5 separate regions of the Homo sapiens genome follow, and all the other regions are linked to region 5. Evidence: promoter capture Hi-C in 16 types of primary human blood cells and fetal thymus (Javierre and others, 2016). All regions are on one chromosome and are shown on one strand. Each heading gives the region's core, a stretch centred on a gene start or on the middle of the fragment in contact. The rest is flanking DNA. Distances are from core to core; before and after follow the strand shown.

Region 1 (4,364 bases), core at 1,097-3,596, 180 kb after region 5:
AAGACCCCTTCATTTGTGGGCTTAAATAGTTTGTTTTATGAGAAATATGCCCTCCTCTGGCAAAAGGGCAGGGTTAGACAGTCTGTTTTCTTCTATTAGCACTGCAGCTTATGGAGGGAGGGTAAAGGCTAGGAGCGTGGCTTACTGTGTCTGACGAGCTGATTGAGGAGACACTGCAGTTACTCCCAGAGGGAACTGCCCCTTAGGGCAGTTCTGGCAAAGCAGTTCTGGCGGGAGTCTGAGAAGTTGGATAAGGCGGGCAGGCGGGGAAGAGGGAAAGGAGCGAGGAGCCCGGCGGACTGGCGCCCCTAGCGGTGGTTCTAACGCGTGCACTGGGTAAGTGTGGAGCGCTGGTCTAGAGGTCTTGCCTGGGGCTGTCTCCGGAGAGCAACTTGGCAGCTCTGTGCGTCTCAGTTTTCTCTCCCTCTTTTTGTGCTGCTGCCCAGGAGCTTCGGGAGACCAGCCTTACTCTACTGCACTAAAAAAGTGAAGACACTTTTTGATTTTTTCTTGCTCTGCCTCTTACTTTGCTCAACCCAGAAACTGGAGAGCTACCTCCAGTGCTTTTCCAGAGAAGAGCTTCAACCTGCTACTACGTGAATAACCAACTGTGGTTAAGGGTAGCTTGATAAATAAGGACGGAAGGCTGGCATGTTCGCCTGCACACGTTACCACCTGCCCTTTGTCATGGCACTGTCAGTGAATGGAGAAGCGAAGAGAAGGCTGGGGCCATTCTTTCTGTTCTGCAACTTTTATGCACTTGGGCAGCAGGCTGTCCAAGCTTGGCAGAGTGCTCCAATAGAGGCAGGCTGGCTCCTATCCTTTCTCATATGAGGATTTACCCTCAGCCTCCAATCTTGGCCAGGTCAGGCAGGCGTAGGGAGGTTGGAGCAGTTGTGGAGAATGCTGAGATGTGGATCCTCTATCTTTGCAGGCAATGCTGGCTATCGGCTTCCTCTCCCTGCCAGTTTCCCAGCAGTCTTGCCCATTGGGGAGCAGCCCCCCGAAGGGCAGTGGCAACATCAAGCAGAGGTACAGATTGCCCGAAAGCTTCAGTGCATTGCAGACCAGTTCCACCGGCTTCATGTGCAGCAAGTAGGCACGGGGGTTTAGGGGAGGAGGGTTGAGTCTGCTGGGGCTTGGGGGCCAGGGCCTGCCTCTCTCCTCTTGTCAGCAACTCTGTCTCTGCCAGACCTCAAGGATATTGTCCCAGAGTTTTGGTTATGGCGGTTCCCATGGGCAGGAGGGGCCTAACTGGCTAAGCATCTTGCCCTCATCTCTGAGCTCCACATTGGTTAACTGCCCAGTCTCAATTCATGTTCCATAAGAGCCCTCTCGGGAGAGGCTACAGTCTGGGAATAGGATGGCTTTCTGCAGCTCTGCTTGACAACCTGTCTCTTCTTATGGCCGTGGCTGAGGGGTTGCCCCTCACGGACCTAAGAGGAAGATTTTCCGGGTGCTGCAATGAAACTGGGCAGTTGGGGGGTGCCTGGCTAAGGTACAGTGGGAAACGGGTAACCAGGCCAAGGGATGGGGCCTGAGTTGGGGAAAGTGGTGGAACCGGTTGAAACCTGACACTTTCCAGCTGGGGAGGCCGCTCCTCACTGTCTCTGTCTGGGAACCAGGGTCTGGGACTCCGGAGAGTGTACCTCGGAGAGGCTCCCCAGACCGGCGGCCAGCCGGGCGCTCAGCCGGGCGCTTGGCCGGCAGCCTGGCACCAGCCCCGCCAGGGCGGGGCATCACGTGTCAGCCGAGCATGTGGCAGAGTCCATCAACAAAGGCGGCGGCTGGCAGGCTCGTGCTGGAGGAGCCCTCTGTGCCATGGCCTGGAGGCTGCCTTCCCTGTTCCAGCAGCCGCTGTCTGGGCTGGGTCCCCAGGCACTTAACCCTTCCTCTTCGGGCTGGCTTTCTGGATGGCTGCCAAGGCTGGGAGAGGAGCCTGAGGCTGCATCCGTGCTGGTACAGCCACAGCTGAAGCACAGGCATGCCACCTGGAAGCGAACACATTCTGTACTTCTGGGACTGTGTCCCCAGCCCAGCTGGCTCTGAATGTGTGTTTGTGTGTCTGACTGCGAGGAAATCAAGGGAATAAATAGCTTGACCATGACTGGGCAGACTCCGAGGTTAGAAGGGTAGCTTCAGGTGGTCGGAGGAGAGCTATTGGTAGGTTGACTTAAGGGTCAAACCATTACCAGTGCCAGGGGAAGAGGAATTGACCTTGGCTTTCCTAAGAACAGGACATTGCGGGTTACATATGGTTAGTGCCCTCTGCCAAGGAGTTCTAAGGACAGTTTGGGGCCAGGTCTGGGCCTGGTAAGTCCTCCCAGTCCCTTAGTGATCAGGAAGGGAGGGTGGCCCTATGCTTAGATAATAGATCTAAGCTCCAGTTCTTACTCTCTCCTTTGATTATTTGGTGGAAACTTGGCTTCGAGTTTCCCCTTCAGTCCATGTGTGGACTCACTCTGATTCTTGTTTTCAGTTTCTTGGCCTCCTTCCTGCCCATTCACTCCACCGTGGTTGTACAGGCCTACGGCTGAGCCCAGCTCACAGCTTCCAGTCCTGGTACTGGAGAGGATGGGAGGACACAGTGGCTGTGGCTCTTTTAGACTCATCTAGCGGGCTCCGTGGAAGGCAGCTTGCTTCATTTGCAATAATCTGATCTCTTTCACCAGTTATTCCCCAGAATATTCCCCCATCCACTGGTGAGCCTCTATAGGCTTGGGAATAGGCCGGGAGCCCTCCCTGGCACAGGACTAGGATACAGTCCTGGGGGCCCTCCTAACTTGGTCCTGAACAGGAGGAGGAGGAGGCCCTTATCCCAAGGTCTGGCCCTGATTTTTTTTTTTTTTTTTTTTTTTGGCTCTTTCGCCCAGGCTGGAGTGCAGTGGCATGATCTCGGCTCACTGCAACCTCTGCCTCCCCAGTTCAAGCGATTCTCCTGCCTCAGCCTCCCGAGTAGCTGGGATTATAGGCACGCACCACCACACCTGGCTAATTTTTGTACTTTTAGTGGAGACGGGGTTTCGCCATGTCAGCCAGGCTGGTCTCGAACTCCTGACCTCAGATGATCCACCTGCCTCGGCCTCCCAAAGTGCTGGGACTACAGGCGTGAGCCACTGCGCCTGCCTTGCCCTGCTTTTTGCTGGTTGGCATCACTTCTCCCAGTTCAGAGCTGCCTCTTTGCATGCACAGGTTAGTTTTAGACAAGGTGTTGTGCTTTTAGCCAGAGCCACCCAAGCTGGGGAGAAGGAAAGTGGAGGTGCAAGGCATGAGAGTCTCCTCTGCCTTGCACCTTACTCCACACTGGCTCCCAGGTTTCCTGTACCCCTACCCTCCTGCCATCTACCTACTTCTTACTTACAAGGGTAGGAGGCTGACCAGTGAGCCTTTTCTAGCTCAAAGAGCTGGTTTTCCCAAATTTTCCAGTACAAAGAGCCAGGGTTTTGTCTTCTCCTTAAACAGTTCTCCCCAGAGTCTTCTTGCTTTTAACCCCCTCCTCCCCACTGACCCTACTTATAGACCTTCACCAGGAACTCATCCTGCAGGAAGGGCTAAGGTGATGGCTTCAGGCAGGTGGAACACTGGTACTCCTGGAACGTTTCAGCAGCTGGTTTTGAGAAGTGAGTCATTTTCTAAGCTTGATTCTTATATAAACTACAGTCTAAGATTTCATATCTAGAAAGTACTGTTGTCACTCCTCCATTCTTATCCTTTATCTTCTTTCCCTATTCCCTTCCCTCATTTTTGCAGGCAGAGAAACTGAGGCAGTGGGAAGGAGGTTATTTAGGATTTAGTTTCTAGGCTTTGGGTTCAGAGTCAGAAAGCCCAGGTTTGAATACCAGCTCTGCCATCTACTAGTTTTCAGGAAGTCACTTGACTTCACTGAGCCTATTTCCTCTTCTATGAATTAGTGCTAATACCACAGAATTTTACTGTGATAATTAAGTGAGAAAATACCTATGAGAGTTTGGGACACACAGTAGATGTTCTTTAATGCCTGTTTCCTTCTTTCTGTTTATGATCCTGATCACCCCCGACGTTTGTTCTTGTTGGTTCACAATTCATTTCCCACTCCACCTGGCAGGGGACTCCCTGAGCAGAGCTGCCTCCCCTGAACTTCCCTCCACCTGCCTGGTCCAGAGGAATTAGTGTCCAGACTGATCATCTGTGGACCTTGGCCTTATCGATTTCTCTTCAGGGAATGATAGTCATTCCCCATCATTGCGGGCTGGATTTAGAGAGCCAAGAAAAGCAACCCTAGAGGCAGATGGGACTTGAGGAGGCCTGACCGTCACCTTTCCCCTACATCTGGGATAGTGTCCTGGGGCTAGACAGTGGCCACTGGTCCATAGTCCTGTGGAGAG
Region 2 (4,173 bases), core at 380-2,879, 240 kb after region 5:
CTCCCTCCCCACCCCCGCTTCACTGGCCATACTGGACTGTCCAGCATGAGAGTGTGGGCCCTCATTTCACACTGCCTTGTCTTGTGGTTTGACATTTCACCTAGGTTTGTTTTGTCTCCTCTTCAAGACTTGAAGACAGGATGATTTGGGTCCTTAACCACTGCCTCCTACTTCAAACGAGATCCCTTACAGAGCTGAGCTCAGAGCCGACCCTGTGTGTAAGGGCATAATAAATCCTGGCTGAATGTCCCGTCTCAGTGTCTCTGTCTTGGTTCCTGCCTGAATTTCAGTCAGCTGAGCCACAGTTCACCCCAGACCCTGTAGCATCTTGGGAGGAGACATTTGGGCTCCTCTGCCTGGTAGTCACGTTGCCTCACTGCAGGAAGTGACCCAGGCCTTGCCGTCTCCCAGCTTGTGGGCCTTCTTGCCTCCAGGTTCCCCTCTGACTAATCATGAGAGTGCTATGGGGCTGACTGGAAGCGACCACTCCTGTCCCAGAAGGGACTTCCCCAGCCTGAATGCTTGCAGGTGGACGGCAAGGGAAGGGGGATAGTGCTGGTAATATGCAAGGTGGTGCCCTCGTCCAGTTCCAGGGACACAGCTCATAGAACACTCCCAAAAGGGGCTGTTCAGCCTGTCTCCATTCTTGCAGCTCTCTTCACCCCAAGCCTCAGGCCGGGCCTGGCTCGTTGTCCCTGGGGGGTCTGAAAGGGGCTGGAGTGGGGGTGGAGTGAGCAGCAACCCGGGACTCTCAGCTCAGCGCTTTTCCCCCCATTGTGAAATGGCCTTGGATAAGGGCCAAGCAGGAAGCTGCCTCCTATAGCTCCGTGGCCTGGCGCCTGGGGTGTGAGGACGGCCCCAGGCCCTTCCCTTCCCAAGGGAGGGCTGAAGCTGACACACGGAGTCCACCTGCATGGAGACACTGAGCTGCCCTTGGCTAAGTCATGAGGGGCCTATGCCCTCCCTCCTGCTCTCTGTGCCAGCTAGTTTGTGGCAGGCAGAGGGGTGTGTGGAAAGTGCATGGGCCTGGGGCTCAGGGCTCGGGGCTTCCAGTCTCACCTTTGGCATTACCAAGCTTTGTGATCTTGGTCAAGTCATTTTCCCTCTTTGGACCTCACTCAGTTTCTATTCACTTGTGAATAACTAGCAGGTAAAGGGTTGGACTAAAAAGGTCTTGGAGGCCTCTTCCAGCTCAATATTGTGACTCACTGAAGTCAATGATTCATTGATGTTATTACTGGGACTTGGCTCTGATCAGATGGGAGTTTCTTCATTGTGTCTGTCTAGGATTCCCTGTGTAAATCTGCATCTGTGGGTCTGTCACAGAGGTGGAGTGGGCTTCCCCGAACAATCAAGGATGAATGATGACACAGAGGCCAAGAGATGAACAGCATCTGTCGCTTTGGGGAGTCGAGACACCTGTTGGGTAATTTGTGCAGAACTCTGGCTATATAATTTCCTGTCCTTGACTTTCAGACAGGAAACTTTAAATTGGGGACCCCTAATCATCCTGAATAAGGGAGCCCCTCCCCCACCCACTAAACCCATGAAAGTGTGGGGAGGAGGAGGGCAGGAATAGGTGCTCATGCCCCAGACTTCCAGCCTGGCTGGGAATAACTACGCTTGCAATAACTATGCTTGCCTTTCCTGGCCTCAGTTTCCCCTCTTACAATATGGGGTATGCTGGCCCCCTTCTTGAGGTTCAGCAAGGAAGGAAATCCTAGATGAGAAGGGGAGAACCTCTTAAAGTTCACACACATTTCTTGAGTGCCACCACCTGATTCTGTACAAGGATGGCCTTCCAGGCATGTGGGGCCAGGGGCTGCCCATGGAGTGTAGCCTAGAGGGTACTGGCAATTCCTTTGTATCTCCCCAAAGCCCCTATACCAGAAATCCCACCATTAGAGTCTGTTCTTTGTTTAACATCACCTAAGTTTCCTCCACAAATGGAGGGCGTGTGACATACTAACCATTTGTCCTGAACATGTTCGTGTGATTTAGCTACCAGATGGGTTGCCTCCACACAGCTAGCTGAGCTTAGTGAGAGACTGGGATTTTGATGGGGAGGGAGGGAGGGGTGTTTTGCACGACCGAATATTTCTACTCAGGGTACTGCTTGAGAAGGAGAGGAAAAGAACAATGAAACCTAGCTTTTCTGCCATGCTTTCTCACGTATAAGCTTTTATATTCACATTGTCACACTGAACTCACCACAGCAGTGTGAGGAAGATCTTCCCATTTTACAGCTGAGGAAATGGAGGCTCATAGAGATTAAGATGACTTTCCTTCAGAGATACAGCCAAGAAATGCCAAGTTGGACCTGGAATCCAAAGACAGGATTAAGGAGACAGGATTCTGCATGGGAGTGGGAGGGGGACAGGGGCTTGGGATAGGAACCCACACCCAGAGGGAGGGAAAGATGAGGAGTGGAGAGAGAGTCCCAGTTTGTTCCACTCTGCCTAGAGCTGGTCTCTTTTCTGCCTTCCCTCCCTTCTTGTCACCTCTTTGGACAGCTGAAAGACAGCTGAAAGCTCAGCACTCCTGAGCTGCCCGCAGGCTACACTCATTTGCAAGTGCTTCTTCGCACAGAGGTGGCAGGCTCCTCAGCTAGAACAACGCTCACCTCACAGGACTATTGGGGGCTCAAAAGTGGATACATGTAAGCACCTAGAAATGAACCTGGCACTTAGTAACTTCTCAATAAATATAAGCAAGCTATTATCTGAGAAAAAAATAGTCTCTTCTCTAGTGGAGAAGTCAGTCAGCTTCTTGCACCTAGAACAGTGCCAAACACTGCTTGTTTAGCCTTGTTCAGTGAATGGATGAATGATAATCTTTCTGTAACACGGAAAGTTCTAGCCTCCACAGAAGTAATTTTGAAAAATAATGACCACGATCTTGGATATTCTTAGGGTTGATCTAAGGTAAACGACAGGGCAAGATCTGGGAGTGGCTGAGGCGGTCGCCCATGGCTGCGCTCGTCTGGTGAGGCCAGGGCGTCCCCTACTGGCCCAAGACGAGTCACAGGCAGGTCGAGGCCACTCCTCATCTCTGCGATGGCGCGTGGAGGGAGGGCGTGGTGGCGTTGCTGCGAGCGAGGGGAAGGCCAGTGTTAATCACTGACACTTGTGGGCTCCGGAAACTTCCCTAGGGCCCCCAGAAGGGGCTGGGGGGAGAAAAGCAGCAGTTCTAAGAATTTTGGAAGTAGAAGTGACATTAGCAATCTAGCCTAAGTCCTGAACATAACAGTGAAAATACTTTAAAAAATACATCAACTGGGTGTTTACTATGAGCCCTTTACGTGGATTATGTCCTTGAAAGCCGACAACAACCCTCTGAGGCAGGTTCCCTGTGGAGGATAGGGCGCAAGCAAGTACCTCGTGCAGGGCCTCACAGCAAGTTGGGGAGCAGGGTGAGCCTGGGGTCTCTGACTCACAGTCCAGGGCACCTGTGCTGTCTCTCTAGGACACTGGGGCTTGGGATTTAAATCCAGGACTTCATCCTGGGGTGGGGATGGAGAGAGTTCCTGGAGCCCTGAGTTGGCTGAGCAGATACAATGAACACTTGTTGACCAACTGACTGCAGAAAAGAATAAAGGAATTGGGAACTGCCAGTGTTGGAGTGGATTCAGTCCAGGGAGTGTGTTGACGTGTGGCTTCAGGGTGTTTACTCTCTCCGGGCACCCAGGCTTCTAGGACACACTCTCATCTCCCTCCGGCCACTCCTCTGGCCTTCTCTAGGATGGCTCCACCAGAGCTAACCACCTCCCGCTGACGTGGGAGGTCTCCCAGCCTTAGGTTCTAAAATTTGTCATCCCAAAGCCAGACCTGCCCAGTGCCATTCCTCGATGTGTTTAGATGATACCCTCCTTCCTTCATCCAGAACTGACCCTTAAATCAGCACACTGGAGCTACGGTGAGGCAGCTCAGAGCCCAAGGTATAGTTCCCCTCAGACTGAAACTGAAAAGTTAAACTAGCCCAGAGGCCAGTCCTCCGTAAGGTGCACAGTGTCTTGTTGCAATCTGCTCCTGTAGAATGAATCCACCTTGACGAGGAGGACGTAGAACAGCCCACTCCCAACTAAGGGACTGCAGTGTAATAATGCATCCCTTAGCTCATTTACTCCTCCCCTTGACATGAGGTAGGCACTTTTATGACTTCCCCATTTTACAG
Region 3 (4,545 bases), core at 605-3,104, 140 kb after region 5:
TATACCACTTCACAAATAATTTAAGAAAATTCCATTTTACTTCCATTTGCCCCTTCCATCCTTTGACTATTATCTATTCTACTTGTGTGCATGTAATAAGTCCCATAATATATGGTTGTTATTTGTGTTTTTAAAAGCCAATTGTCATTCAAAATAAATTAAAATAGTCTTCTATATTTACCCACATACTTACCATTTGCAATGCTCTTCATTCCTTCTGGTAGATCTGAGCCTCCAACTGCTATCATGCTATCTTTTCTCACTAGCCTGAAGAACTCCCTTTAGTATTTCTTTCTTTTCTCTTTTTCTTTCTTTCTTTCTTTCTTTCTTTCTTTCTTTCTTTCTTTCTTTCTTTCTTTTCTTTCTTTCTTTTTTCTTTCTTTCTTTCTTTCCTTCCTTCCTTCCTTTCTTCTTTCTTTTCTCTCTCTCTCTCTTTCTTTCTTTTTTTTTTTTTTGCTTGCTTGTTTCTTGTGATGGAGTCTCCCTACGTTGCCCAAGTTGATCTTGAACTTCTAGGCTCAAGTGATCCTCCTGCCACAGCCTTCCCAGTAGCTGGGACTACAATTGCACCCAGCTTTTTTAGTATTTCTTGAAGTACATGTCTGTTGAAAATTATTTCCCTTAGCTGTTGTTTATCTAAACATATCTTTATTTCTGTTTCATTTGTGAAAGCTATTTTTCTTGGACAGAGAATTCTATATTTTCTGGTTTTCTTTTCATGTATGTCATTTTATTGTCTTCTGGTTTGCATTGTTTTTAAAGAGAAGTTAGGCATCATTTTTATCATTGTAATGTTCCTTTTTTCTCTGGCTGCTTTTAAGATTTTCATTTTATCTTTGGTTCAACAACTTGACTGTGATGTGTCTAGATGTGTTTTTCTTTGTATTTACCCCACTTGGGGTTTGACGACCTTTTAAAATCTGTAGGTCTGCCAGGTGCGGTGGCTCATGTCTGTAATCCCAGCACTTTGGGAGGCCAAGGTGGGCAGATCACTTGAGGTCAGGAGTTCGAGACCAGCCTTGCCAACGTGGTGAAACCCCGTCTCTACTAGAGATACAAAAATTAGCTGGACATGGTGGCGCACACCTGTAGTCCCAGCTACTTGGGAGGCTCAGACAGGAGAATCGCTTGAACATGGGAGGTGGAGGTTGCATTGAACTGAGATTGCGCCACTGCACTCCAGCCTGGCTGACAGAGTGAGACTCTGTCTCAAAAAAAAAAAAAAAATTAGTTTAAATCTGTAGGTTGATCCTTTTTGTTACATTTTAAATTTTTCACTATTATTTCTTCCTGTAGAAAAACAATTGGTGCTATTTGTTCTCTTTCTGAGACTGCAATTACACAAATCTTAGGACAGCTGCTGTTATCCCACAGGTCACTGTACTGTGGTCATTAATTTTTTTCTCTCTTTTTATCAGTTTGGATACTTTTGATTGGCTTGTCTTTAAGTTCATTGATGCTTTTTCTGTGGTGTCCAATTTGCTATTAAGCTCATCCAATGAATTTTATATATATATATATATATATATATATATATATATATATTTAGTTCATATATATATATATATTTAGTTGTAGAATTTCCATTTGGTTCTTTTTTAGAGTTTACATTTCTTTACTAAAATAACCCTCTCTTCAACCATCATAGCTATCTTTTCCTGTGAACTTTAACATATTCATATTAATCGTTTTAAAGCTTTTGTCTGCTAACTCCAATAACTGGATCATGTGTGGATCTGCTTCTCTATTTTCTCTTGATTATGGATCACATGCTTCTTTTCCTTACTCTCCTGTTTCTCAAAACTGTATTCCAGAAATTTTGTATAAAAGAACAGTAGAAATGAAAATATATCTTTTTGTTTACTTCTCAGAAATTGCAGTTCCTTTCCCCTGTCTGGTGGTTAGGTTGAAGCTGATCACTGGGACTCCTCGGACAGTGGAATTGAGGTAAGGCTGCACTGCAGCTTTAATTAGATTGTGTTCACCTGTAAGTAGCCCAATCCCAAGCTTCTGCCTCCTTTTCAAGTTGTCAGTAATTGAGCTGGGTGGGGGTAGCGTACAGATTCAGATCATTTTGATTCAACTTTGGACTCTACTCCAGCAGGGCCCCAGAATCTAAGCAGGACCGTGTCATTACTCTCTGCTTTCCAGCCCCTTCTCCAGTGCCACAGTTGTGGCAAAGTTCAGGAATGGGGGTGGGTGGAGAACAGAGAATTATCGGCCTAAATGACCTGCTTTTATATTGGGCCTCTTCCAGATTGTCATCTGTCTTGCCAGCCCATGCCGCAGCTCGCTGATTTCTTCTTATCCTTACAAAACCCCTGCCTATGGCATGTTTCTCCATCCACCTGTAGCCAGACCAGGCACATCCTCAGGTGTGAAAGCTGTGCTGACCTTCTGCTCATCTATAAAGGGCTTGTTTCTTTGTGGAATTCAACTCATCAAGGCCATGCCTGCACTGCTCAGTAGAAAAGCACGATTTTTATTTTTGTCTAGGTTTTTCTTGTTGATAGCATTGTAGCAAAGGCTTTTCATATATTTCTACATCCTAACCAGAAGCGGAGCTCTCCCAGATGTTAGAGGAGCAGTAAGGAGGTCAATGTGTCTGGAGCAGAATGAGTGAAAACAGGAAGAAGAGATGAAGCTGGAGAGGTGACCAGGAGTCAGTTCATGCTCAATCTCACAGGCCACTGGAAAGATTGGCTTTTACTTTGCATAAGATGGGAAGTGATGGCTTTTGAGCAGAAGAATGACAGGGTCTTGTATGGGTTTTAACAGGAGCACTGTGGCTGCCGGGATGAAAATAGTCTGTAAGAGGCAAGGGAAGCAATAGAGGGATCAGTTATTGCAACAATCCAGGGAAGGGATGGTGGTAGCTTAGATTGGTGTGGCCATGGTGGAGTGGTGAGTCTGAGTACATTTTGAAGGCAGAGACAGCAGCGTTTATTGACAGATGATATGTAAAGTATAGGGAAAGAAGAGGATGACTCTAAAGTTGTGGTCTGAACAAGCAGAAGGATGGAGTTTTCTTACTCAGATGGAAAGACTGAGGAGAGTCAATATCTTGGACCATTTGTGCTGCTATAATAAAGTACCACAGACTGGGTCACTGATGAAGAACCAAAGTTAACTTTCTGACAGTTCTGGAGTCTGGGAAGTCTAAGATGAAGGCGCTGGCACTTGGCAAGGGCCTTCTTGCTGCATCATTATATGGAGGAAGGCGGAGGGGCAAGAGAAAGCAAGAGTGGGTCAAACTTGCCCTTTTATAATGGCACCAGTTCTACCCATGAGGTTGGAACCCCCATGGCCTAATCACCTCTTAAAGGTCCTACCTCGTAAGACTGTTACAATGGCAACTGAATTTCGTGAGCTTTGGAGAAACATTCAAACCACAGCAAGTAGGTTTGTGGGAAGTACTCTTTCTTTTTTGTTTTTTTGAGACGGAGTCTCGCTCTGTCGCCCAGGCTGGAGTGCAGTGGTGCGATCTCAGCTCACTGCAAGCTCTGCCTCCTGGGTTCACGCCATTCTCCTGCCTCAGCCTCCCGAGTAGCTGGGACTACAGGCGCCCACCACCACGCCTGGCGAATTTTTTGTATTTTTAGTAGAGACGGGGTTTCACCGTATTAGCCAGGATGGTCTCGATCTCCTGACCTCGTGATCCGCCTGCCTCAGCCTCCCAAAGTGCTGGGATTACAGGCGTGAGCCACCGCGCAAGGCCAGTGGGAAGTACTCTTATTTTATTTTATTTTATTTTTAATTTTTAAATTTTTATTTATTTATGTATTTATTTATTTATTATTATTATACTTTAAGTTTTAGGGTACATGTGCACAACGTGCAGGTTTGTTACATATGTATACATGTGCCATTTTGGTGTGCTGCACCCATTAACTCGTCATTTAGCATTAGATATATCTCCTAATGCTATCCCTCCCCGCTCCCCCCCACCCGACAAAAGTCCCCAGCGTGTGATGTTCCCCTTCCTATGTCCATGTGTTCTCATTGTTCAATTCACACCTATGAGTGAGAACATGAAGTGTTTCGTTTTTTGTCCATGCGATAGTTTGCTGAGAATGATGGTTTCCAGCTTCATCCATGTCCCTACAAAGGACATGAACTCATCCTTTTTTATGGCTGCGTAGTATTCCATGGTGTATATGTGCCACATTTTCTTAATCCAGTCTATCGTTGTTGGACATTTGGGTTGGTTCCAAGTCTTTGCTATTGTGAATAGTGCCACAATAAACATACGTGTGCACGTGTCTTTATAGTAGCATGATTCATAATCCTTTGGGTATATATCCAGTCATGGGATGGCTGGGTCAAATGGAATTTCTAGTTCTAGATCCCTGAGGAATCGCCACACTGACTTCCACAATGGTTGAACGAGTTTACAGTCCCACCAACAGTGTAAAAGTGTTCCTATTTCTCCACATCCTCTCCAGCATCTGTTGTTTCCTGACTTTTTAATGATCGCCATTCTAACTGGTGTGAGATGGTATCTCACTGTGGTTTTGATTTGCATTTCTCTGATGGCCAGTGATG
Region 4 (4,452 bases), core at 1,137-3,636, 150 kb before region 5:
GTGTGTCTAGCACAGTCCTGGCCCCAAGGAAGGATGGCATTCTAGGTCTCTCATAACCTGGCCCCAGGACATACAGCCCTCTACCTCTCCCCTTTCACAGGCACACTTAGGGCTCCCAAACTAATAGCCTTTGAGCAAAAGTAAGCAGGCAGACAAGTTCCATTTAACTGTCTATGGGGCTTTCAAAAAAGATTAAAATTAGGGGCCAATGCTGAAATTTTTGGAGATTCAAAATAAAAATCCAGGTTTACAGTTTCTCTTGAAAAAAATCAGAAGATTTGCTACCCCTGGCGCACATTTTCACTTGCAACAGTAGGTTGGTACTAAGTAGCAAATGCAGTCTGTATGGGGTAGGCATGCTCCAGTTTACCATACTCCCACCTTGCCCATGTGGGGCATTTACGGGACCTGAACCCTGAAGGTTTTCAGGTGTGTGATCCTTGCCCTGCACTGTGGCCACAGAGACATGGATGGGTATCGTGGTGCAGCCCTTTGCAGTGTCTAGTTCACTGGAACCTACTCAGAGAGCCCTGTTGCATTCTCATGCCAATCTCTAATAGTACCTTCATTATTGCCCCAGGAGCAGATGTTTACTGAACACACTCCAAGATCCATGGACCCAGGCTGGAGACGAAAAGGGAAATTAAACATGGTCCAGAGTTTGTGGGCTCTTCTAGGTGACTCCTGAGAACATGGCATGATACCTGGCAAATAGTAGTTGCCTAATAATGCTTGGTGAACTGAATAGTAAACAATTGGTAAATAGAAACTGAATGGATAAATACACAGAGAGGGGAGAATTATTCCAAGAAACATGACATTTCTGTGATGATCTAGGTTTGGGTTGCTTGGGACCTCAGCTTCCAGGGTCACCTCCTTTACTGTTACCAGAACACTTGTCCGCTCAGATATCAACTTGGAGTATGACTTCTCCCCTGAGGAACTCCCAGTGCTGTGGACTGGAAGACCAGGGGTGCATCCACTATGTTGGTTCCTTTATTCCAGACGTACAGACCCCTGGGAAGATGAAGAAATCCAGATCTGGAATGGGCAGTGTATTGAGAGCCTCCAAAGCCGGCAGGAGGTCCAGAGGGGGCAGGTGTCTCTTACAGAAGGCATGAACAGGCACTCAACATACGTTTCTTTATTTAACCCTCAAGAACTCTGGTAGGTAAATGTACTCTCAAATTTACAAACAAATGAGGAAACTGAGACCTGGAGAATCTAAGTAACTGCCCAAGATCACATAGGCTTGGAGTGGCTCCAAAACCTTTGCTTTTTTTTTCATACGGCATTTAACATATAAAATAGAGGTCTAACCCTTTATATGTCTAAAAGCTTTCTTCTTTCTACATTTCACATAGCGTAGTGGTTAAGAATGCAGACTTTCTGAGTACAGTCCTGGCGCTACAGTGTCTTAAAACATATAAAGTACTTAGAATAGTACCTGATGTAGCCACAAGTGCCCCCAGAACATTAGCAATTGTGAATCTATTTCATCATGCCCAAATCTGGCCATGCCTGAAGCCTGCCCTGCTTCCATACTGGAATCAGTCTTCCACCTCTGTTTTGTACTCCTTGTCTCCCATCTGGAGCTCTGACAATGTAGTGCCTGTGGCTGTATTCTGTCCACCCAGCAGTGGGCCCCACTCTGGCTTCAGTCAGGCAGGATGGCTCCCTTTGCTGGGTTTGGAGGAGAGGCCAGCCCCTCTTCCCATGGCTTCTCCATTCCATCCTCCCAAGGCCAGGGCCCTAGCCATTTCCCTCTTCGGGAAAGATTCTCTGTGGCATCCCTAAGCACATTCCTCAAGGTGAGGTAGTTCCATCTCCTACAGGCTCTCAGCCACAGCCACTGACCTCTCTAGTCTTGCAAAACCCAGAGCAGAGGAGAGAATCACCTGTGGTTCTTTTGCCATCTTCACTTAACCTCAGTGAACCCACAGCAAGAGCCAGGACCAGCCCTTTCCAGCAGACACCCTCTGGGGGGACTACAGTCTGGGCCACAAGTATGGTGTTAACCAACCATGGTGCCACCTGTGCTCTGCACTGTGCAGGCACCAAGAAGACTTGGGAGGCCATGCAGACAGCATTGCTTCTGACCTAGGAAAGCTACTCCACCCAGCAGAGGCGTGATCCTCAGAAACTGAAGAGCACATCAAAGAGTGTATGACCTAAGCAAGACTGGGCCAGATGATTAGTAACTGGAAAAGTGACATCAAGACTTAGATATGATAGGCCAGGCGCAGTGGCTCACACCTGTAATTCCAGCACTTTGGGGGGCCGAGGTGGGCGGATCACTTGAGGCCAGGAGTTCAAGACCAGTCTGGCCAATGTGGCAAAACCCTGTCTCTACAGGTGTGGTGACACGCATCTGTAGTTCCAGCTACTCAGGAGGCTGAGGCATAAGAATCGCTTGAACCTGGGGGGTGGAGATTGCAGTGAGCCAAGATGGAACTATTGCACTCCAACCTGGGTGATGGAGTGAGAATCTATCTCAAAAAAAAAAAAAAAAGACTTAGATATGAGAGGCCTGACAATTTTTCCCCTTGATTTGTGAATATTATACTATATTTAAAAATCTAATAAGGGCATTTATAAAAATTACACTTAGTTATATAGACAACAACTCTTCTTTGTTGAAAGGGATTATGGGAAATCAGCAATTGCCTTTTTCATTGCTTCCCTCTGTCAGGGTGTATTCTGTGATAGGTAATGTTCCTGGAGAGATTCCATGAGTTAGGCACTGTGTTAAGCTCTTTACACATAATCTTTTTTTTTTTTTTGAGATGGAGTCTTGCTCTGTAGCCCAGGCTGGAGTGCAGTGGCGTGATCTCAGCTCACTGCAAGCTCTGCCTTCCAAGTTCACACCATTCTCCTGCCTCAGCCTCCCGAGTAGCTGGGACTACAGGCGCCCGCCACTGTGCCCAGCTAATTTTTTGTATTTTTAGTAGAGACGGGGTTTCACCATGTTAGCCAGGCTGGTCTCGGTCTCCTGACCTCGTGATCTGCCTGCCTCGGCCTCCCAAAGTGCTGGGATTACAGGCGTGAGCCACTGCGCCCGGCCTACACATACTCTTAATCCCCAGCCAGTCTTATGAAATAGATAGTGTTATTATTCTCATTTTACTAATGAGAAAACTGAGGCATAGAGAGGTTCGGTAACTTCCCAGGGTCACATTAATAATAGTGGAGCCGGCTGGGCACGGTGGCTCACACCTGTAATCCCAGGTCTCAGGGAGGCAGAGGTGGGAGGATAGCTTGAGCCCAGGAGTTCGAGACCTGTCTGGGCAATAAAGCGAGACCCCGTTCTCCACAAAAAGGAAGAAAAAAAAAGACAAAAAAAAAAAAAGCGTAATAATAGTGGAGCCAGGGTTTACATCCCAGCCTTGTCACTTTTAATGATTTCTCCATCACTTCTTCCTAAATAAGCTTCCCCAAACAATTCTCTACTCTTATGTTTTCCAAATGTCTGTTAGCAACTCATTCAAATTTTACACATGAAGTTGCTGTGAGCAACATTCATCTCACTGTTAGATTGGGGGCAAAATGTTGCAAGTCGATTGTCATATTTCTTTATAAAAAGATATTCCTTTGGCAAAGCCGTTATCAAAAGTACCCTTTCCCTGCCTTCTGCACTCTCTTTGACACTGAAACATCAATATGGTCTTTCAAGAACATCAGATACACTTCAGCCAACTTCCAACTACAAGCAAACTCAGTGTTCTCCCAATGTTTCCACTGTGGGGTGCACTGGCAGTTTTAAGAGTCAAGAACCTTGGACTCATCCTTGGCACCTCCCTCTCCCTCCCAAGCCGCCACCCATAGCTAATCCATCACCACAGCCTGTCATTTACTGGAGTCTCCAGCCTCGAATCTCCTCCCACCTCTGTGATCAACCACAGCCCAGCCTCCCGCATCCACTCTGCCCCAGTCAGAGGGATCTTTCCAAAATAGACTGCCTCATAGCACTCTCCTGCTTAAACCCTTCCGTGACTCCTGCTTACACTCAGCATAAAGATCCAAATCTGGAACTGACTATTGTTGCCGCCCCAGCCAGGAGGCTCCTCTGATCTCATCTCTCGGGCTCAGTCACACTCCGCAACCTGCAATGCTCTCCTCCTAGCAAGCCTGGCAAGCCGGTGATTCCTGGCTAAGATCTGCCTCCCCGGCTAGGCTAGGGTGAAAACCACATCTGCGTCTCCCTGGGTCCTCCTGTTTCTCCATGGCCCACAGGGTACCTGCACATGATAGGTTCTCAGTAACAGCTACTCAGTGATGAATGAATGGCAGAGAAATCAAGCCTTTGCCTGTGCCGCAGCGGCTCTGCACCCTGACTGCTCTGCCAGGTGGCCACAGTGCTAGACTTCCATATTAGCTTAGAAAACTACCTCTTGCAGCCACACTGCGTGCCAGGCTCTGCCTCCCTACCTTTAAACACACCCATCCTGACCC
Region 5 (4,263 bases), core at 999-3,498:
TGTGGCCTTTTCATGACACCAGGAAAGAAAATTGGCAGATCCCTGACCAAAGGCTTAACAAATGCAAAAAGAGAAAAGGGGGGCTTCGTAGTGGATGCAGGTACACATCACACGCTCCTCACGTGACAGAGGGGAGTGGGAGCCTCTGCTCCATGGCCTGGGTGCCAAATTCAAGGTGGACATCCCCGGAGCCTGGGAGCTGGAGAGAGGCAAGGGGTTCAGGGTGCAGGGCCATGAGCCCACTTTGCCACGCCTATCTATGCCCAGTACCTTTCCCCAGGCATCTCCTACTCCAAAGCATCTGCTCAGACTGAGAACACCATCATTCTTCCCTTATTTCCTGTCTCTGATAGGAAGGGACCCCTTAAAGCAGCCCTCAATAGTGTCCCCTGAAGGTTTATCCTGCTTCCAAGCCTTTGCCTCCAGAACCCGTCTGGAATTACTTCCTTTTTTTTTTTTTTTTTTTTTTTTTTTTGACGGAGTCTCACTCTGTCTCCAGGCTGGAGTGCAGTGGCGTGATCTCGGCTCACTGCAACCTCTGCCTCCCAGGTTCAAGCAATTCTCCTGCGTCAGCCTCCCAAGTAGCAGGGACTACAGGCGCGTGCCACCGCGCCCAGCTAATTTTTGTATTTTTAGTAGAGACGGGGTTTCACCATGTTGGCCAGGATGGTCTCGATCCCTTGATCTCGTGATCCGCCCGCCTCGGCCTCCCAAAGTGCTGGGATTACAGGCGTGAGCCACTGCACCCGGCCTGGGATTCCTTCCTTCTTTCTTTTGCAGCCAGATCCCGCACATCCTTGAAGGCCTATCTTTAAAAGGCCCGAGAGCCCTCTCCTGCCCACAACTCCATCTTTTCATCCAAGGACTGTGTTGGTACGTATTTAGCAGAAGAATTCAGCCCTCAGGTGACAACGTCCATTTTTTAAGTCCCAGTGTTGTCTTCTTAAGAGGTGGAACGTCTCGCACCCAGAACCGAGATTCTGTCTCTCTCTTACCCGCTGCCGGCAACAAAATGTGCGGCTCATGAAAAGTCTCAGTAAATTCTGCAGCTGATAACTGCTTTACTCCTTACTTTACAAATATCCATTCCAACCCTACTCACACCCTCCCCACCACCCACACCCAGGCTCTGAGGCGCCCTAACTCTGCTCCGCCCAGGCCTGTGTATCATCCCCCCTCCTCCAGGACCGAGGGGGACCTGCTGGCCGGAGGGAGAGGAGATGCAGTGGTTTCTCCAAGCATCTTACGGAAAATGGAACTTGTGCTCGCCTCCTCTCTTTAGGGGTCAGCCAGTGGTCAGAGCCAGAGCCCTGTGGCCTGGGGGTTGTTTTGTGCTCAAGGGAGAAGCGAGGGGCAGGGAACCTCGAGTGGGTCCCTAGCTCTTTCCAGGGTGGCGGCGCCAGGGAACTTTTAACATGTCCGCGGCACTCCCGGGTCCTAAGGAGCCCCTCCCTGGTCTGGGCGTCTACACTCTGCCCGCTAGGCAGCCACCAGGAGCTGGCACGCGGGCGCGTTGTCGGGGTTGGAGACGTCTGAAATTGGAGAGCGCACTCGGACCCCACCCCTCGTTCCCAGGGAGCGTGTGCGGGTGGAACAATTGTGTGTGAGTGCGTGATTCTCTGCACTTCGAGTGGCAGTTCCCAGCCAGGCTGAGCGCCCCCAATCCGCGGCACGTATACCCCCTCCCCCAAATTACTCCTCATCCGCCTTTCGCTGCCACCCCTAGCTCGCGCGTGGTCCAGTTCTGCGCTCATGGGGTCCCAATTCCTTTCACCCTGGACCGATGGGGGCAGCTTTCAGTCTTCCCCGACGAGGCCGAGGTCCCGCCAGTTTCTAAGGAGCCGAGGGCACCGACTCGGTTGGGGGCGGAGGGCGGGGAGAGAAGACTGCGACTTTGGGATTGGCCCGGTTGGGTGCATGTGGCCCCCGGCGAGCAGCCCCCGCCCCCGCCCCGCAACCGCCGCCGCATTCCCAGGGGAGCGCGGAGGAGGAACCGCTCCCCTACTTCGTGGCCCACGAAGGGGTGGGGGTCAGGAGCGGTCTCCCCCGCCCCGTCCGTCTCTGCCCTGACGGCGCAGTCCGCTCCCAGGACAGCCATTGCCATGGAGACCCCCAAGGCTATAAAGTCAGGTATCTAGGCGGGCGGCAGCTCCCGCGCCGCTGAGCCCCCCAAGTAAGGAGCAAGCGCCCTGGCGTGGCCCGGCCCCCGCGAGAGGGGAGGAGGCGGAGGAACGGCGCCAGCAGCTTGAGGAGCGGCGCGCCCCGCCAGGGCTGGAGGCAGGCGTGCACGGCGGGCGCCACCGTCGCTGCGGGGGAGCGGGGGCTGCCCTGGGTGCGGGTGAGTGGCACGGCGGCTCCAAACCACGAGGACTGAGGGGCGCCGGACACCGGGAAAGCGGCGAGAGACTCGGGAGAGGGTCGAGTCTCTGCTCCCGACGTCTGGTGGCGGGCCAGGAGCGGAGCCCGGAGTAGCGAGCAATCAACACCTCCAGGCGGGAGGCCCGGGGAAGGAGCGGCGACACGCCAGGCGTGCGGCCCAGGAGCGGCGGGGCAGTCGGAGCCTCCGGGACAGCGGAGTAGGAACCTCGGGACCCTCGGCTGCAGCCGCCCACGCGCGGAGGGAGAGGTATCAGAGCGCGGGCGGAGGCCGGAGCCCCGCGGGGCGCGAGAACAGGGGCGCCCCCGTGCGGAACTGCCAGGCTGCCCGGGCGCGGCGGCCGGGGCCATGCTCAAACCCAAGGACCTGTGCCCCCGAGCGGGGACGCGCACCTTCCTGGAGGCCATGCAGGCGGGCAAAGTGCACTTGGCCCGCTTCGTGTTGGATGCGCTGGACCGCAGCATCATCGACTGCCGCGCGGAGCAGGGCCGTACGCCGCTCATGGTGGCCGTGGGGCTGCCGGACCCCGCGCTGCGCGCGCGCTTCGTGCGGCTGCTGCTCGAGCAGGGTGCTGCAGTGAACCTGCGAGACGAGCGCGGCCGCACCGCACTCAGCCTGGCGTGCGAGCGAGGCCACCTGGACGCCGTGCAGCTGCTGGTGCAGTTCAGCGGTGACCCCGAGGCGGCCGACTCTGCGGGCAACAGCCCGGTGATGTGGGCGGCGGCCTGCGGCCACGGGGCGGTGCTCGAGTTCCTGGTGCGGTCCTTCCGCCGCCTAGGCCTGCGCCTCGACCGCACCAACCGTGCGGGGCTCACCGCGCTGCAACTGGCCGCCGCCCGCGGCCACGGGACCTGTGTGCAGGCCCTCACCGGGCCCTGGGGCCGCGCCGCCGCCGCCGCTGCGGCCCGGGGCTCCAACTCCGATAGTCCCCCTGGCCGCCCGGCCCCCGCGGCCAGCCCCGAGCATCGACGACCCAGCCCCCGCCGCCTCCCGCGGCCTCTCCTGGCGCGCTTTGCGCGAGCGGCGGGCGGCCACGGCGGCGAGGCTGGCTCAGCGGGCAAGAATTCGGGCCGGCACCGGGCGCAGGGCAGCGAACGGCCCGAGCTGGGTCGGAGCATGAGCCTGGCTCTAGGTGCGGTAACCGAGGAGGAGGCTGCCCGCCTGCGGGCTGGGGCCCTGATGGCCCTACCAAACTCGCCCCAGTCTTCGGGGACTGGGCGGTGGCGCTCACAGGAGGTGCTGGAGGGAGCGCCCCCAACCTTAGCGCAAGCCCCCATTGGCCTCAGTCCCCACCCGGAGGGCGGCCCCGGCTCTGGCCGCCTGGGTTTGCGCCGACGCTCCACAGCCCCAGATATCCCCAGCCTGGTCGGGGAGGCGCCAGGGCCCGAGAGTGGCCCGGAGTTAGAGGCCAACGCTCTGTCTGTCTCGGTGCCTGGGCCGAACCCTTGGCAGGCGGGCACCGAGGCTGTGGTGCTGCGTGCTCAGCGGTAAACGGCGCCAAGGCCCGAGGCCTGCTTCCCCTACCCTCCCGTTTCTACTCCACTGGTATTTCTCTCTTCTAGGTCCCTCACCTTTTCGGCAGCCGCCCCCCGCAGTCCATTTTGGAACCTGCCTCCCTGCCAAGGCGAGACCTCCACCAGCCCTCCACCAGAAATAAGGGACCTCCATCTTCTTTTTTGTGCTCCTCGGTATTCCCTGCCTAGGTCTAGAGGTGTCGATTGACTGGTTCCGTAGGCTACAGCCAGGAAGGTGGATTCCCCCTCCCCAGCCCTCAGGCTCAATCCTGGGTCGGCCTAGCCATCTGTCGCTCCTGTCCGGCCCCCCTCCCCTCGCTGGGTTTCCCAACAACTGGGCAGCCAGGTAAATAGAAGGGTCCACCTTGGAGA

The links. The method cuts DNA at HindIII sites, captures the fragments that hold promoters and counts their contacts. A CHiCAGO score of 5 or more calls a contact.
Region 1: a contact is called between a fragment that was not itself captured here and the fragment with the promoter of ANKRD63 in region 5, in 7 of 17 cell types (M0 macrophages, activated CD4 T cells, naive B cells and 4 more). The highest score is 10.9, in M0 macrophages.
Region 2: a fragment that was not itself captured here is called in contact with the fragment with the promoter of ANKRD63 in region 5 in 16 of 17 cell types (activated CD4 T cells, naive CD8 T cells, total CD8 T cells and 13 more); the score reaches 69.9 in activated CD4 T cells.
Region 3: a fragment that was not itself captured here is called in contact with the fragment with the promoter of ANKRD63 in region 5 in 2 of 17 cell types (M0 macrophages and naive B cells); the score reaches 5.6 in M0 macrophages.
Region 4: a fragment that was not itself captured here is called in contact with the fragment with the promoter of ANKRD63 in region 5 in 4 of 17 cell types (M0 macrophages, total CD4 T cells, activated CD4 T cells and 1 more); the score reaches 6.5 in M0 macrophages.

The regions. Positions count from the first base shown.
Region 1 is chr15:40,100,911-40,105,274 of GRCh38, reverse strand. BMF (Bcl2 modifying factor) reads left to right here. Exons shown (of 5, transcript NM_001003940.2): 4 at 935-1,095. Among named protein-coding and RNA genes, the nearest start is that of BMF, 5.8 kb to the left of the region's middle. RefSeq lists a silencer at 183-375 and enhancers at 908-1,473, 1,474-2,038. The HindIII fragment of the contact is 2,587 bases long and covers 1,053-3,639 here.
Region 2 is chr15:40,044,108-40,048,280 of GRCh38, reverse strand. It overlaps SRP14-DT (SRP14 divergent transcript), which reads right to left. Exons shown (of 3, transcript NR_040060.1): 2 at 2,212-2,320. Among named protein-coding and RNA genes, the nearest start is that of SRP14-DT, 6.9 kb to the right of the region's middle. RefSeq lists enhancers at 308-437, 778-907. The HindIII fragment of the contact is 1,104 bases long and covers 1,078-2,181 here.
Region 3 is chr15:40,140,238-40,144,782 of GRCh38, reverse strand. No RefSeq gene overlaps it. Among named protein-coding and RNA genes, the nearest start is that of BUB1B, 19 kb to the left of the region's middle. The HindIII fragment of the contact is 311 bases long and covers 1,699-2,009 here.
Region 4 is chr15:40,430,026-40,434,477 of GRCh38, reverse strand. It overlaps a transcript of IVD not described here. Among named protein-coding and RNA genes, the nearest start is that of BAHD1, 8.7 kb to the left of the region's middle. The HindIII fragment of the contact is 2,091 bases long and covers 1,341-3,431 here.
Region 5 is chr15:40,281,049-40,285,311 of GRCh38, reverse strand. ANKRD63 (ankyrin repeat domain 63) reads left to right here and starts at 2,248. Exons shown (of 1, transcript NM_001190479.3): 1 at 2,248-4,263. The coding sequence starts at 2,726. The coding sequence ends at 3,868. It also overlaps a transcript of PLCB2 not described here. RefSeq lists silencers at 2,287-2,356, 2,427-2,486, 2,497-2,766. The HindIII fragment of the contact is 15,046 bases long and covers 1-4,263 here.